3 separate regions of the Homo sapiens genome follow, and all the other regions are linked to region 1. Evidence: promoter capture Hi-C in 16 types of primary human blood cells and fetal thymus (Javierre and others, 2016). All regions are on one chromosome and are shown on one strand. The core of a region is centred on a gene start or on the middle of the fragment in contact, and the rest is flanking DNA. Distances in the headings are between cores, read along the strand shown. Region 1 holds the start of DGUOK (deoxyguanosine kinase). Region 2 overlaps TET3 (tet methylcytosine dioxygenase 3). Region 3 overlaps TET3 (tet methylcytosine dioxygenase 3).

What was found. The method cuts DNA at HindIII sites, captures the fragments that hold promoters and counts their contacts. A CHiCAGO score of 5 or more calls a contact.
Region 2: a fragment that was not itself captured here is called in contact with the fragment with the promoter of DGUOK in region 1 in 10 of 17 cell types (activated CD4 T cells, naive CD8 T cells, total CD8 T cells and 7 more); the score reaches 13.4 in activated CD4 T cells.
Region 3: a fragment that was not itself captured here is called in contact with the fragment with the promoter of DGUOK in region 1 in 8 of 17 cell types (activated CD4 T cells, naive CD8 T cells, monocytes and 5 more); the score reaches 7.2 in activated CD4 T cells.

What each region holds. Positions count from the first base shown.
Region 1 is chr2:73,925,178-73,929,751 of GRCh38, forward strand. DGUOK (deoxyguanosine kinase) reads left to right here and starts at 1,703. Exons shown (of 7, transcript NM_080916.3): 1 at 1,703-1,875. The coding sequence starts at 1,734. RefSeq lists an enhancer at 1,735-2,004. The HindIII fragment of the contact is 7,290 bases long and covers 382-4,574 here.
Region 2 is chr2:73,988,483-73,993,216 of GRCh38, forward strand. The region is part of intron 2 of TET3 (tet methylcytosine dioxygenase 3); the gene reads left to right. Among named protein-coding and RNA genes, the nearest start is that of TET3, 5.9 kb to the left of the region's middle. The HindIII fragment of the contact is 5,630 bases long and covers 1-4,734 here.
Region 3 is chr2:74,018,222-74,022,925 of GRCh38, forward strand. The region is part of intron 3 of TET3 (tet methylcytosine dioxygenase 3); the gene reads left to right. Among named protein-coding and RNA genes, the nearest start is that of TET3, 36 kb to the left of the region's middle. RefSeq lists a silencer at 2,840-2,919 and enhancers at 3,100-3,149, 3,101-3,600. The HindIII fragment of the contact is 1,716 bases long and covers 560-2,275 here.

The DNA of each region.
Region 1 (4,574 bases), core at 453-2,952:
TGATTGGTTGCAGGAGGGGACCAATCAGAGGCTGAAGTAAAGTTATGAAGTTATACCCCATGCAACTAAAGACTTGGCCTGCCACCAGCCTGACTGATTGCCCGCGGGGACCAGTCAGAGGTACTTTCAATTTTTTATCTGCCACCCAGAAGAGGGATTAGCTTCTGGTCCTTTTGTTACTTGGGCTAGAAAGTTGGGGTTTTCCTTTTGATTTAGTTCTAGGAAGTCAGCCTAAATCGGCCTTAGGTTCCCTGTCTCCAGACCCTATTTTCCTGCCTCGTAGCTTTTAGGAGATTAATGCCTGCCTGCAGACAACTTCCTCATTTAACTTTCACAACACCCCTGAGGCAGCAAGATCCTGGCGAGGCAGAGAGCCTCTCAAGCTTTTTTGGATGAATATTTTCCAAGTCTGAGTTTACATAGGTAAAGAAATGTAAGCAGTTTTTTTTTTGTTTTTTGTTTTGTTTTGTTTTGTTTTGTTTTGTTTTAACAGAAGTGGCTGCTGGAGTGGAGATGGGAATGGGTAGGACTTTAGCCGCTCCAGTAGCCATTAACGCCCCACCCTGGTTATCCTTAAAAAATTCGATTAAAAAAAAAGTTCTTAATATATAAACATGACCTCAGCCATCCTATATATACATCAACATAAGAAAAAGGTCCCGTGCTTTTTATGGGAACAGCTTCAAGACAGGTATCCCAGCCCCCGGCCCCTCCCCAGCCCCCTTGCAATCAGATCCTTGTCTTCTAAAACCTGCCACACCTAAGAGCGCTGCCTGAAGGCCGGTTTGGCCTGTTGACTCCTGGTTTTGACTGTTGGTGATTTAAGCGATTGGAACTGGAAGCACCATTTGACAACATTTTGTAAATCATTACTTCTGAGGTTGTTATGACGACGGGGTGTGGCAGTCCGGCTTCACCTGTGGCAGCAGCTTAGGTCCCTGCCCTCCTGCAGAGCACACTTCACCGACAGCAGGACTCAGGTTTTATACAAGTCTCTACTCGCCATTGCTTACGTCCAAGAACCCAGCCTACCAGGTTTAAACAATTTCCAGTCACATACCTGAGCCACCACCACCTTATCCTGAAGGGATTTTTGGGTATAATGCAAATCGATTGACCGAACATTTATTTACTTATTCAAGACACAAACTAAGAGATGGGGTGTAACTGATTATCTAATTTGTTAATTTAGTCAATAATATGCCAGCATTGTGCAGGGGAATTACAGGGAATAGGAAAAAGTTAAATTTGTGTAAATCATCAGATTGAGTCATTTTCCTACTTTAAAACTTCCATTTTCTTCCGATATTAAAATAAAAACCAGACAACAAGCACCTGGGGGGGGGGAAATCCCCTCTTAAAATTACAATTTCTATTTTTAATTTTGTCTTCAGTTATAAAATTTATTTTAAAGTTATACAAAAATGAAGTGGTTGGATTGTGGAATTACGTCTTTTAAAATGTTATTTGTCCAATGAACAAAAACCACTCGCACCGCAACTCCTTTTACTATCAAATTCTGCACCGTTGCAAAACTTCCTTCACTCAACGCTTCTTTACAAACATCGCGATAGCGGAGCGGTCTCTTGGGCGCACCCCGCCGCATGTTCAACCCCACCCACTTCCTGTCTGACGATCTCCTTACGTCAACGGTGCGCTGGAGCGAGTGAGCAGCGATACCTAGGGCGGAAGTGCTCTCGGCGGAAGTGATCGCTGTGTGAATCGTGGGTGGGATGGCCGCGGGCCGCCTCTTTCTAAGTCGGCTTCGAGCACCCTTCAGTTCCATGGCCAAGAGCCCACTCGAGGGCGTTTCCTCCTCCAGAGGCCTGCACGCGGGGCGCGGGCCCCGAAGGCTCTCCATCGAAGGCAACATTGGTAAGGGCCGGAAAGCGGCTGCCAAGCCTTGGCCTCCGCCACGCAGGCGACAGAGGCTGGGAAAGGAGCTGGGCCCGGAATGGCCTGCGTCTGATGCGGCCGGCCTCTTTTTCTGGGCTGCGAGGAGAGCCTTTCCCCTCGCAAAGTGCACTGTGTATCTTTGCCTCCTTGTTTTTAGGATATCGGGCCTCAGTACCCGCCCACAGGAACATATTTGTTGGGGCATAAAAGCCACGCAGTTAGTGGATAGGACAAGAATTGTATTAGCTGTTTGTAATAGATCGAAATTGAAGCGACAAGCGGGTGCAGTTTATTTGTTCTCCTAGATAGGGTTGCCATATTTAGCAGAAATTAAAAATAATATCCAGTTAAAATAGAATTTAAGATAACGAATAATTTTTAGTGTGTGTCCAATGCAATATTTGGGACATCCTTACAGCAAAACAACAACGAAATCACTCATTGAAAGTTCAAATTTAACTGTGTCCTGTATTTTATCTGGCAACCCTATTCGAAGAGAGTTCCTAAATTTCAGTCGTTCAAATACCACATTCACAATTTTTGCCCTGTGCCTGTGCTAGTTGCATAATAATTTCTTAAGGCTTTTCTTAGAAGAACCTCACTTTTTAAACTTAAAAACATGTATTAAATTAAAAATTATTTTGTTAAAAGAGTGAGATCCAGTATCTTGAATAAAAAGTAGTCAGAAAGCAAAATGAAGGCAAAGCATTTCGATTTAATATTAATAAATTCTGACTTGATACTTTTATCTACCAAGTCACTGAGCCCCTAAAAGGGGCTTAGCAAGTGTTGAGTACTGAAGACGTAGCAGCAAACTGAGAATTTCTTTTTTTATTCATTCAACAAATCACCTTTTGAGCCACTTCCATATGCCAGCACTGTTCTTGGCCTGGAGAATACAGCTGTGAATAGAACAAATAAAAATCTCTGCTCTCATGGAACTCAAGTAGGGAGAGATGGACAATAAACAACATAAATTAAGCAAGGTGAACAATATGTTAGAGAGTAATAAGTATGATGGAGAAAAATTAGGGATGAAGAATTGAGGGAAGTTTTTATTTTATTTTATTTGAGATGGAGTTTTGCTCTTGTTACCCAGGCTGGAGTGCAATGACACGATCTCGACTCACTGCAACCTCTGCCTCCCTGGTTCAAGCGATTCTCCTGCCTCAGCCTCCCGAATAGCTGGGATTAGGGGCACCCGCCACCACACCCAGTTAATTTTTGTTTTGTTAGTAGAGACAGGGTTTCACCATGTTGGCCAGGCTGGTCTCAAACTCCTAACCTCAGGTGATCCGCCTGCCTCGGCCTCCCAAAGTGCTGGGATTATAGGCGTTAGCCACTGCACCTGGCCGAAGTTGTCATTTTAAATAAAATAAGCAAGGCCTCACTGAGAAGGTGACATCTGAGCAAAAAACTGAAGATGAGGGAGCAAATCACGTGGATACCTGGGAGAAGAATCTTCTAGGCAGAGTGAAGAGCAATTGGAAAGGCCCTGAGGTGGAAAGTGTGTTCGGGGAATAGGAGGGAAATCGTTGTGACTGAAGTCGAGTGAGCAAGGATGGGAGGGAAATTAGGGCAAAAGCCCAAGGGGTGGCCAGATTTTATAGGCCTTATCATGGGTTTTTAATCTTACCGAGATGGGTAGCCATTGGAAGGTTTGAGGAGTCAAGTGACAGTTTTACTTAGATTATAAAAAGATCACTGTGGCTGATAACATTGAAAGTGAAGAGTGTTAAGTGGTATTGCAATAATTATAGTATTGTGAAAAGTGAAAGTGGTGAGACGTGATTGGATTCTAGTTATACGTTAACAAAAATTGAGTTACATTTTAAGTAAAATTTAACAGTGGAAGTGGTGAGAAATGATTGGGTTCTAGTTATATTTTAAGATAGGGCCAATTGGATTTGGTGACAGGTTGAATGCAGAGTGTAAGGTAAAGAGAGGGGCCAATGATGACTCCAATTATTTTGACTTGAGTACTTGAAAGATAGACTCCTGATTTTCTTTTATTTCCTCCTCTCCTTCTTCCTCCCCTCCCCTCGCTTCCCCTCCTTTGGTGTGGTCTTGCCCTGTTGCCAGGCTAGAATACAGTGATGCAATTGCATCTCACTGCAGCCTGCCTCCCAGGCTCAAGCCATCCTCCCACCTTAGCCTCTTGAGTAGCTGGATCCACAGGTGTTTGCCACTATGCGTGGCTAATTTTGTATATTTTTTGTAGAGACAGGGTCTCACTATATTTTCCAGGCTGGTCTTGATCTCCTGGGCTCAATTGATCCTCCTGCCTTGGCTTCCCAAAGTGCTGGGATTACAGAAGTGAGCCTTGGTTTTAAGCATGTTAGGTTTTTACATGCCTATTAATATCCAAGTAGAGGTGTTGAATAGGTAATTGGATATGTAAGTTCAGAATTAGGGTCTCCCCGGACTGGAGCTGTAAATGTAGGTGGTATTTAATGCCAGAGACTATGTGTTGATGGAAAGGACTGAGCCCTGAGCATGCAAATATTATGAAACTGGGGAGATGGGAAGGAATAAGCAGAGACTGAGAAGGAATGCCTACTGAGGTAGGAGAAAAAAACAAAAGAGAATGATATCCTGGAAGCCAAGTGAAGAAGGTATTCAGTGGGAGGGAATGATCAGCTGTGTTATACTGTTTAAGTAAATGAAGGTCTTTGGTG
Region 2 (4,734 bases), core at 1,370-3,869, 64 kb after region 1:
AAGGGGCTGGGAGTGAGGCCAGGACCTTGTCATCCTGTGTGTAAGCTGTCGGCCCAGGCTGCCGGGTGGTCTTGGTTAAGATATCATGGATCTGGGGTGGCTGAGGCTTAGAGACACCCCTGCTGAGAGATGTCTGCATCCCTGTTGACCTTGCCATGGCCAACTGCCTCTCTAAGCCCCAGGGTCAGGTAAGGTGAGGCTGGACAGCCTTGGGTGTCCGAGGACAGAGGGTCTACATGCTGATCTGTGGAGTTCTCTGTTTCTAGAGAAACAAAAGGGGACAGTGGAATGAGTTTTTTCGTAAAGCTAACTTTCTGTGACTCAAAGAGCAGTACTTTTTTTCTAAGGATAGGTCCTTTCTACTTCTCGATGTTTAAAATACGCTTTCTTAAAATGTGCTTTATGAAGTGAAGGTGTAATAGAAATTAGACCTTTTTTTTTTTTTTTAAGTCTTAGCTTGGTAAAATACAAAATGGTAACCAGTGCCTCTCTCTGAAAAAAAAAAAAGTTTTTTTTGTTTTTTTTTTTTTTTGGTCCATGAAGGCTGAATGCCAGAGAGTCACTGTCTAGGGTATACCACATTTAACGGGCATATCTGTGGCATAATTAATTGAAAAGCTGAGATGTTCCTGAGAGACTGCCAGGGTGGATGAGACCCCAAGACCAGCCCAGCATTTAGCAGATGCTGGGGACTGCTGGGACCATAACCATTAGATCTTAGCAGCCGTGTGGCAGAGGGAACATGTCCCGGGATTGGGGAGGCTGTTTTGGCTGTGACTGTTCAGGTGGGGCGGGACGCAGTATCCTAGGATCCTCTCGGACATCAGACCATTTACCTGCATTCCTGCTGTGTGGTACTTCCTCCTCTCTGTGAGAGTGCTGTGCTCCTCTGGGCACTCTTCCTTACTTCCCTTCTGTCTCCATCTCTCGTAGCTGACTTTGGGGCTTCCTTTGAATTGTCTGCTTGCAGTTACTTTATATCATCCTGTAAGGAGGAGATTATCTTGGGTTTTCCATCTTCTTTCCCTGCTCCTCACTCTTTTTCTCTGGGCTTTGTCGGTGGGGAGAAGGGTGCAGGGGAATCCCTCAGAAAAGAAGTTCAGCATTTTAGGGCTAGAGACAGGTCCCCCAGGGATGGGCCTTCCTGCCCTAGGAGGCGGTGACTACTTCTCTGGGTCCTAATGTGAGGTTGGGGCAGGTTGGTAGTAGCTGTGGTCTTCCTTCCTAGTTCCAGGAAGACTTTAGAGGAGGTTGTTTGATTTCATATTCTTTTTACCTGAGTGGTGGCTTGGTAGTACAATGAAGATGACTGAGTAGAAAAGTAGGGTTTGGTGAGTAAGGAAGCACAGTGGATAGGGCTGAGAACCCAGAGTAAGTGCTGTGCCCTTACTCTCTTGGGCAACCAGTGCTCCATCCCTTCTGTGTCCATTTTCTCAATTGTAAGATGGGAGTAACCCTGCTTTGTAGGGTTGTCATGAGGATTAAATGAGATAAAATATGCATAATGTCTGGCACATAGTAGGTAATCAATGCATGATGACAAAACATTCCTAAACATCTAGAAAATGATGAATCTTTATGCATAAACAACTGTGCATTAGTCTTCGAGCTGTAAAGATGCAATACAAGGGCTAGGTATGGTGGCTTACTCCTGTAATCCCAGAGCTTTGGGAGGCTGAGGCAGGATGATCACTTGAGACCAGGCTGGGCAACATAGCAAGACCCCATTGCTAAAAAAAAAAAAAAATTAGCCAGGCATGGTGGCATGTGCCTGTAGTCCTAGCTCCTGGAAAGACTGAGGTGGGAGAATCGCCTGAGCCCACAGTGGGCAATATTTGAGCCACTGCACTCCAGCCTGCATACAACTCCAGATGCAATACAAATTAAGCGTTTATCTCAAGGCATTCACCTCACTTGCTCATAGAAGAACCGTGGGGCAGAACAGTAGAGCCAGGCAGAGGGAGGGAGGAGTTTGCCAGCCTCTGTGCTGGGGGAGGAGGCTAGACACCAAGGAGTCACTATGGTCCTAGGCCTGACTGAAAAGTTGACCATGGATGAGGGAAGTAAATAACTATTAGAGTAGGAGAATGACCCTTAAAAAAATGCATAGAAAAATGTATGCATAAGTTTGGAAGCATGACTGAGAATATTATGGGTGAAAATGAGAGAAATGGAAAGATATATGTGATGAGAATACTTTCTAGCCCTCAGCCAACTGGATTTACATCTTGAAACAGATCTCTGCCAGATTTGAGTCAAGATACCTTGGAATTGGGAATCTTTCAACAATATCAGAACACCTGATGAATCCTTGCCCATCCTGCTGGTAGTTCTATCTTCCTGAAGATGGAGGCTGTGGAGAGGAATGTGTTCAGGCTGGTCTCAGCATCAAAGGGAGAATTGACTAGAGAAGTGGAAGTGATGAGAATCTTTAGAGAAAGGGACCGCATCTGAGCATTTGTCAAGCCTGAAAGAAGGTTGGACAGGGAGGAGTGTTTGTATTTTTAGTAGAGATGGGGTTTCACCATGTTGGCCAGGCTGGTGTTGAACTCCTGACCTCAGGTGATCCACCCACCTTGGCCTCCCAAAGTGCTGGGATTACAGGCGTGAGTCACCGTGCCCGGCCCTTGGTGTTTTTTTAAATAGAGACAGGGTCTCGCTATTTTGCCCAGGCTGGTCTTGAACTGGTGAATTACAATTTTTATGGATAGTCTTTAGAATATCGTCTTTCAAATGCAAGCGGTTTTTAACTCCACGGCCACAGATTCTAAATGAAAATTAGCTGGAGGGATAGAATTGCTTGTTAAAAAGCAAACTCTGGCCGGGCACGGTGGCTCACGCTTGTAATCCCAGCACTTTGGGAGACCAAGGCAGGCAGATCACCTGAGGTCAGGAATTCGAGACCAGCCTGACCAACATGGAGAAACCCCATCTCTACTAAAAATACAAAATTAGCCAGGCGTGGTGGTGGGTGCCTGTAATCCCAGCTCCTGAGGATTGGACAGATGAGAAGTCCAGTTTTTGACTTAAAGTCATCTTAGAGGGAGGCCACTGATACGACTGCCCTGTTCAGTCTGTCAACCATGTAGATCAGGGGTTCCACATTGGGATCACCTGGGAAATGTAGCAAAACATGGTGCCTGGGCCCCACTCCCAAGGGATTCTGATTTAATTGATCCAGGGTGGACCAAACTGGTCTGGGGCTCCCAGGTGTACCTAGGCTGAGGCAGGAGAATCCCTTGAACCCAGGAGGCAGAGGTTGCAGTGAGCTGAAATTGCGCCATTGCACTCCAACCTGGGCAACAAGAGTGAAACTCTGTCTCAAAAAAAAAAAAAAAAAAAAAAAGAAGGAAACGCTGATAGAACAGTCATGAATGATAGCTTCAGGAGAAAGGTGTTGGTGGGACTGGGGAAGGACTGAGCCATCTGTGTGGCTGTATGGGCTGTTCTCTAGTGAGTGAGGGGGTAAAAGGCCAAGCACATTATGTGGAAAGTGGGGACATGGCACTGAAGCAGAGTCAGGAGTGTGGTCTGAGCCCCTAAGAGGAGCATCAGGGAGTCCAGTGGCCAGAATGTGCTAAGGCTGGTGGAAAATGCTGATAACAATGTCTTGTATATGGTTCTAGCAAGAGTGAGAGGGAAGAGGTAGGCTTACAACTTTCTAGGGATGGAGAGAGTGGACAGACACTGGGTCCCTGTGGTGTCAGAAGATATAACCTGGGGAAAACAGAGCCAGCCAGCTACCCTACCTGAGTCTGAGTCATTCACTTCCTACTGAACACCTGCAGATGTGATTGCAAAATCACAATCTTTTTTTCTTTTCTTTTTTTTTTTTGTTTTGTTTTGTTTGAGATGGAGTCTCGCTCTGTTACCCAGGCTGGACTGCAATGGCGTGATCTTAGCTCACTGCAACTTCCACCTCCCCGGTTCAAGCGATTCTCCTGCCTCAGCCTCCCGAGTAGCTGGGATTACAGGCATGTGCCATCACGCCTGGCTAATTTTTGTTTTTTTAGTAGAGAAGGGGGTTCACCATGTTCGCCAGGCTGGTGTTGAACTCCTGACCTCAGGTGATCTGCCCACCTTGGCCTCCGAAAGTGCTGGGATTACAGGCGTGAGCCACTGTGCCCGGCCCTTGTTGTTTTTTTAAATAGAGACAGAGTGTCGCTATTTTGCCCAGCCTGGTGAACTCATGGTGAATTACAATTTTTATGGAATTATGATGATTGAAAGAGGGCCAAAAAACCAGAGATGGGCTAAAAGTCCAATTTCTCAAAGAGATTTTGAAAATTGTAAATATATAATCTTAATGTCAGTTTTTGAGAGTTCTAGAACAGATTGTTTAAAAGGTGTTTTGTGAAACTTTAGAAAGGCAGGTGATAAACTTTGAGGGTGCTTGTGGTTCTTTTCAAAGCAGCTGAGGCAAATGAACAGATCTAGATTTCTGTAAATAAATGATGGCATCTCCTGCCAGCTTGGACAGATGAGAAGTCCAGTTTTTGACTTAAAGTCATCTTAGAGAGGGAGGCCACTGATATGACTGCCCTGTTCAGTCTGTCAGCCATGTAGATCAGGGGTTCCACATTGGGATCACCTGGGAAACGTAGCAAAACATGGTGCCTGGGCCCCACTCCCAAGGGATTCTGATTTAATTGATCCAGGGTGGACCAAACTGGTCTGGGGCTCCCAGGTGTACCTAATGTGTAGTTAGCATGGAAACCCTCTGATGCAGGTGAG
Region 3 (4,704 bases), core at 168-2,667, 93 kb after region 1:
CTCCCAGAGTGCTGGGATTACAGGTGTGAGCCACCGTGCCTGGCCTTCTTCTGTCATCTTAAGTGAGAAAACATAGTATAGCTTTCATCGTTATGAGGGTTTTGATACTAACTTCTGTTACGTTTTGAAAAAAATTTTGGCCTGTTTGTCTTTCATTGTGTCTATCATAAAAATTTGATTTTTATACAACGAGAATTCATCAGTATTTTGGCTTTTCTTACTTAAGTTTTATTTTAGATGTTCAGATTTCTAAGGTGAGATTTATTTTTGCATGCGATATAAGATAGGGATTGAACTTTTCCTAAATAGAAAGCCTGTTATCCCCAATCTATTTATTGGGTATTTGTAGTTTCCCTTGTAGTGTATGAATTCTACCTTAAGCATTTCATAAGTACTCTTACAGTCATGGGTGTTTTAAGGCCTCTTTTTACTTCCATTGACTTATTTGTCTGATTCTGTGTATTTCATTGTTTTAATTACCACCATTTTTATATAATACTTTGGTTTAAAACATACTTCTTACTTTTTTTTTTTTTTTTGGCATTTCTTTCTCCAAATAAGCTTATAAACAACTTACCATGTTCTGCGAAAAATACTGGGATTTTTCAGTTGGAATCACATGAAACGTACAGGTTATTTTGGGGAGAATAGATAGCTTTACAATGAATCTTCCTATCCAGAGAAAGGGAAGTAGACCTTTCCGTTTATTCTAGTCTTTTTTGTGTGTTCATCAAAGTTTTAAGGCCAGGTGTGGTGGCTCATGCCCCATAATGCCAGTGCTTTGGGAGGCTGAGGCGGGAAGACTGCCTGAAGCCAGGAGTTTGAGATCAGCCAGGGTAACATAGTGAGACCCCCCGCCAACCCTCATCTCTACAAAAAATAAAAACTAGCTGGGTGTGGTGGCGCATGCCTGTAGTCCCAGCTACTTGGGAGGCAGATGTGGGAGGATCGCTGTAGCCCAGGAGTTGGAGGCTGCGGTGAGCTATGATCTGGCCACTGCACTCCAGTCTGGGCGACAGAAGGAGACTCTGTCTCTAATAAAAACCAAACAAACAAAATAAATGAAACGTTTTAAGGTTTTCTTCTTACACATTTCTTGTGAAGTTTCTTCCTAGATATGCTGTAGCTGCTGTTGTTGCTGTTGGGAATGGGATCTTTTCTGTTATACTTTGTATCCCATCTTTGCCCGCATATTAGAAATGCAGCTGCTCTGTGCTGCCTCTTCTGACACTTCTGTCCCTTTCTCCCTCAAGTCCTCATGGTATATTGTCTGTACCTCCGTGGCAATACTGTGTGCCTGAGTGTGAGTTCCCAGTGGTGGGGTGCTCATCTCACTCCATTTCATGTCACCAGTACCTGGCACAAAGCCTAGCATGCGGTAAATCCTTTTAATAAACGCCGTGGCATCAGATTGATGAGAGGGACAGTGAGCTTCACCTCTTCAAAGTGTGACAGCCTGGGCCAATGTGAGCAGCAGAATCTCAAGCAGCCCTGGCTCCAGGCCCTGCAGGCTGTGATCTGGATAACAGATTGGGCACCCTCCTTGTCCCCGCAGGAAAAAGGAGGTCCTGGGCCATTTTTCCACGTGCAGACATCAGGGAGGAGCCCTCTGAGCCTCTATCTCATTATTATCCTGAGACCCACAGCCCCCTTGTTGTTAGCCCTCATTAGTGCTAACTAGTTGGGAGAACTGCTTTCTTAGCTTCCAATCATTTCAAGGTAGCACAAACAAACTTATCTGCAGCTTCCCTTAGGGGATGAGGACTCATCAAGGCTGGAAGCAGAGCTTGTACAGAACATTGTGAGATGGGTTCACACCTATGTGCCCAGTCACCTTCTCTCATATGGTAGTGCCTTTCTTTTTTCTTCTACTATTCTCCTCCAGAGTATATGCATCCCCCCAACCCAGTATGTCCTACGTGAAGTTTATTCCTATCCGTGTGCTAATCTTTACCATAGCGTTTGCATTTGTTTTTCCCTTGAGACAGAGTCTCACTCTGTCACCAAACCTGGAATGCAGTGGCATGATCTTAGCTTACTGCAATCTCTGCCTCTGGGTTCAAGTGATCCTCCCACCTCAGCCTCCCTAGTAGTTGGGACTACAGGTGCATACCACCACACCCAGCTATTCTTTGTATTTTTTTAGAGATGGGGTTTCACCATATTGCCCAGGCTGGTCTTGATTTCTGGGGCATAAGTGGTCTGCCTGCCCAAAGTGTTGGGATTACAGGCATGAGCCACAGTGCCCAGGCTTGGTGTTTGCATTTTATATGTAAGCTTTTGTTTGTAATTGGGGAATGGCAGGCACTATTCCTTGATGGAGCTGTCTGGGGCATGCCAATTCACTCTGTACCCTTGGCAGTGGTTCCAGACTCTCAGGTCCCTGCCCCCACTGGTCTCTGCTGCCCCTGGAGCAAGGATGGTGATGTCTACCTGCCTTGGAGGGACCCAGGAACAAGGGAACTCCCACCTCTTGTTCAAGGGCTTGAGGGCTATGCCCTTGGAGAGAAGGGAATCCCTGCTGTTGTTAAGCAGGGGTCAGGATTTCTGCCTCTCAACATGCATAAAAAGAAGGTGGGAGTGAGGACGTGAGCTGATTTCTAATCCCTCTCTAGCAGTTGTGCATCTGGTTCAGCGTGTCCCGGGGTTTCCCTGGGTTTTGCTTGACCGCAGCAGTAAGCTGTTCCTCATTTATCCCGTGGTCTGTGCTCACCCTCCCCTTCCCACTCACTCATCTCCCATGCTCAGGGTGGCAGAGGACATAGAAATGCTTCTCTGGCTCCTCTGCTGGTTTGTTTTAATCCCTGGGAAACATTGGAACCAAGAGGACACTCAAGAAATACTGGATTGGGGAAAAGATCTGGAAGTATTGCTCTATCTGCCCCTATCCCCTGCTGTTGGTTTCTTACTTCATCTCCCAGTGCCCACCTGGGGCCTCTGAGTCTCCCCAGCCAGGTGGCCCTGAGGCTCCCCATGAGGCCCCAGCTGCATCCACAGCTGCATCTCTGCCAGCTCTGGAGGAGCTGCTTTCTCAGGGTGCTGAGCAGAGACTCTGACAGATGGACCTCCATGAACCGATGGAGCTGTTCCAGATGCCTCCTTACAGAGCAGAGCGCATTCTGGCAGTGAGGCCACGATGCAGGGCTGCCTAGGGCTTTAGCCCACCCGTTGGACAAAGTCTGTTTCTACACTGCCACCTCCATCCATGTTTTGGCGTTTCAGAGAGCATCAGCACTGACCACTGAATGGCCAGGCCTGCATGTGCATATGGGAGGTGGGAAGAGACTACTGTCCCTGGTCAGCCTGTAAGAACCTCAGTTCACCTGGTTTCTGAACCAGCCGAGGCCTTCCCCTCATCTGCACTCACCCTCAACCCCATAGGATTATGGGAAGGGGTTCTCAAAAGGTCGTTCAGGGGCCACCTGGGTCAGAATCCCTTCCATGGTCAGGCAGCGTTGATCTCTGGTGGGACCTGGGAATCTGCATCCATAACCAGCTTCCTACAGGTGATTCCCACGCCCAATGGAGTTTGAGAACTGCTGGCCTGTGAACTAATGTTAACAAAAGAGGCTGCCTGTTTGGGGCTTCCAGTACTTGATCAGGACTGAAAAGATATGCCTTTAAATGCCATGATGGTTTGTGAAAAGGCCAGGTGCTATGCAAACACTTGTGAAAACACAGGAAGACATTTCAGATATGATCAAACTCTAGGAAATAGTTAAAACTTTTTTTTGCCATTGTCTATTACAAAGAATAAAAATTCACTGTAGAAAAATCAGAAAGTTCAGATAAGCAGATAGAGAAAAATAAAAAAGTCCATAATTTTTCTACTCAGAGAGAACTCCTGTTACTATTTCAGTCTTTCTAGGACACTTTTTTTTTTTTTTTTTTTTTTTCCATTTTAAATGTTTCTGGTCTTTTCCCTCTGGGATTGTCAAAATAATACATGTTTATTGTAAAACTATTTCTTTTCTGATTGGCATAAAAATGAGTGCAAAATGTTTGATTTGCAAATCTTTCCTTGCTATGTTTAGTTGTGATCTTTTTTCTTTGTGAATATATTTTTATTTCCTTTATTTTTTGTGTATGCTTTTTTTATGAATGGTAAGACAGCTTCATGTATTAGTGGTATTAACTCTTTATCATGCTTTGGCAAGTATTGCAAATTTCTTTTAATGTATGTTTGGGGGGTTTTTTGTTTGTTTTTTGTTTTTTTGTTTCTTGAGACAGAGTCTCACTCTGTTGCCCCGGCTGGAGGGTTTTTTTTTGTTTGTTTTGTTTTTTGCCAAACTTTTTTTTTTTTACATGCTTGTGTGATCAAATCTAGCTCCAGTAGTTAATCGGTTTATTATTTTTTTTTCTTTTGGTTGTGCCAGACAGAACACAGAACAGGCACTGCTTTTGCAAATTAAGAGGAATTGAGGGGCAATTAGGCAGGTATAGGCCAGACCAGTGCTTCTCCACTTTATCTTCTTCATCCAGATAACCTGGGATTCTTACTACAATGCATTTTCAAATTCAGTGAGTCTGAGATGAGGCTGAGAGTCTGCTTTTTATTTTTTTTATTTTTTTGAGATAAGAGTCTTGCTCTGTCGCCTAGGCTGGAGTGCAGTGGCATGATCTTGGCTCACCGCAACCTCCACCTCCCAGTTCAAGCGATTCTCATGCCTCAGCCTCCCAAGTAGCTGGGACTACAGGCACTCG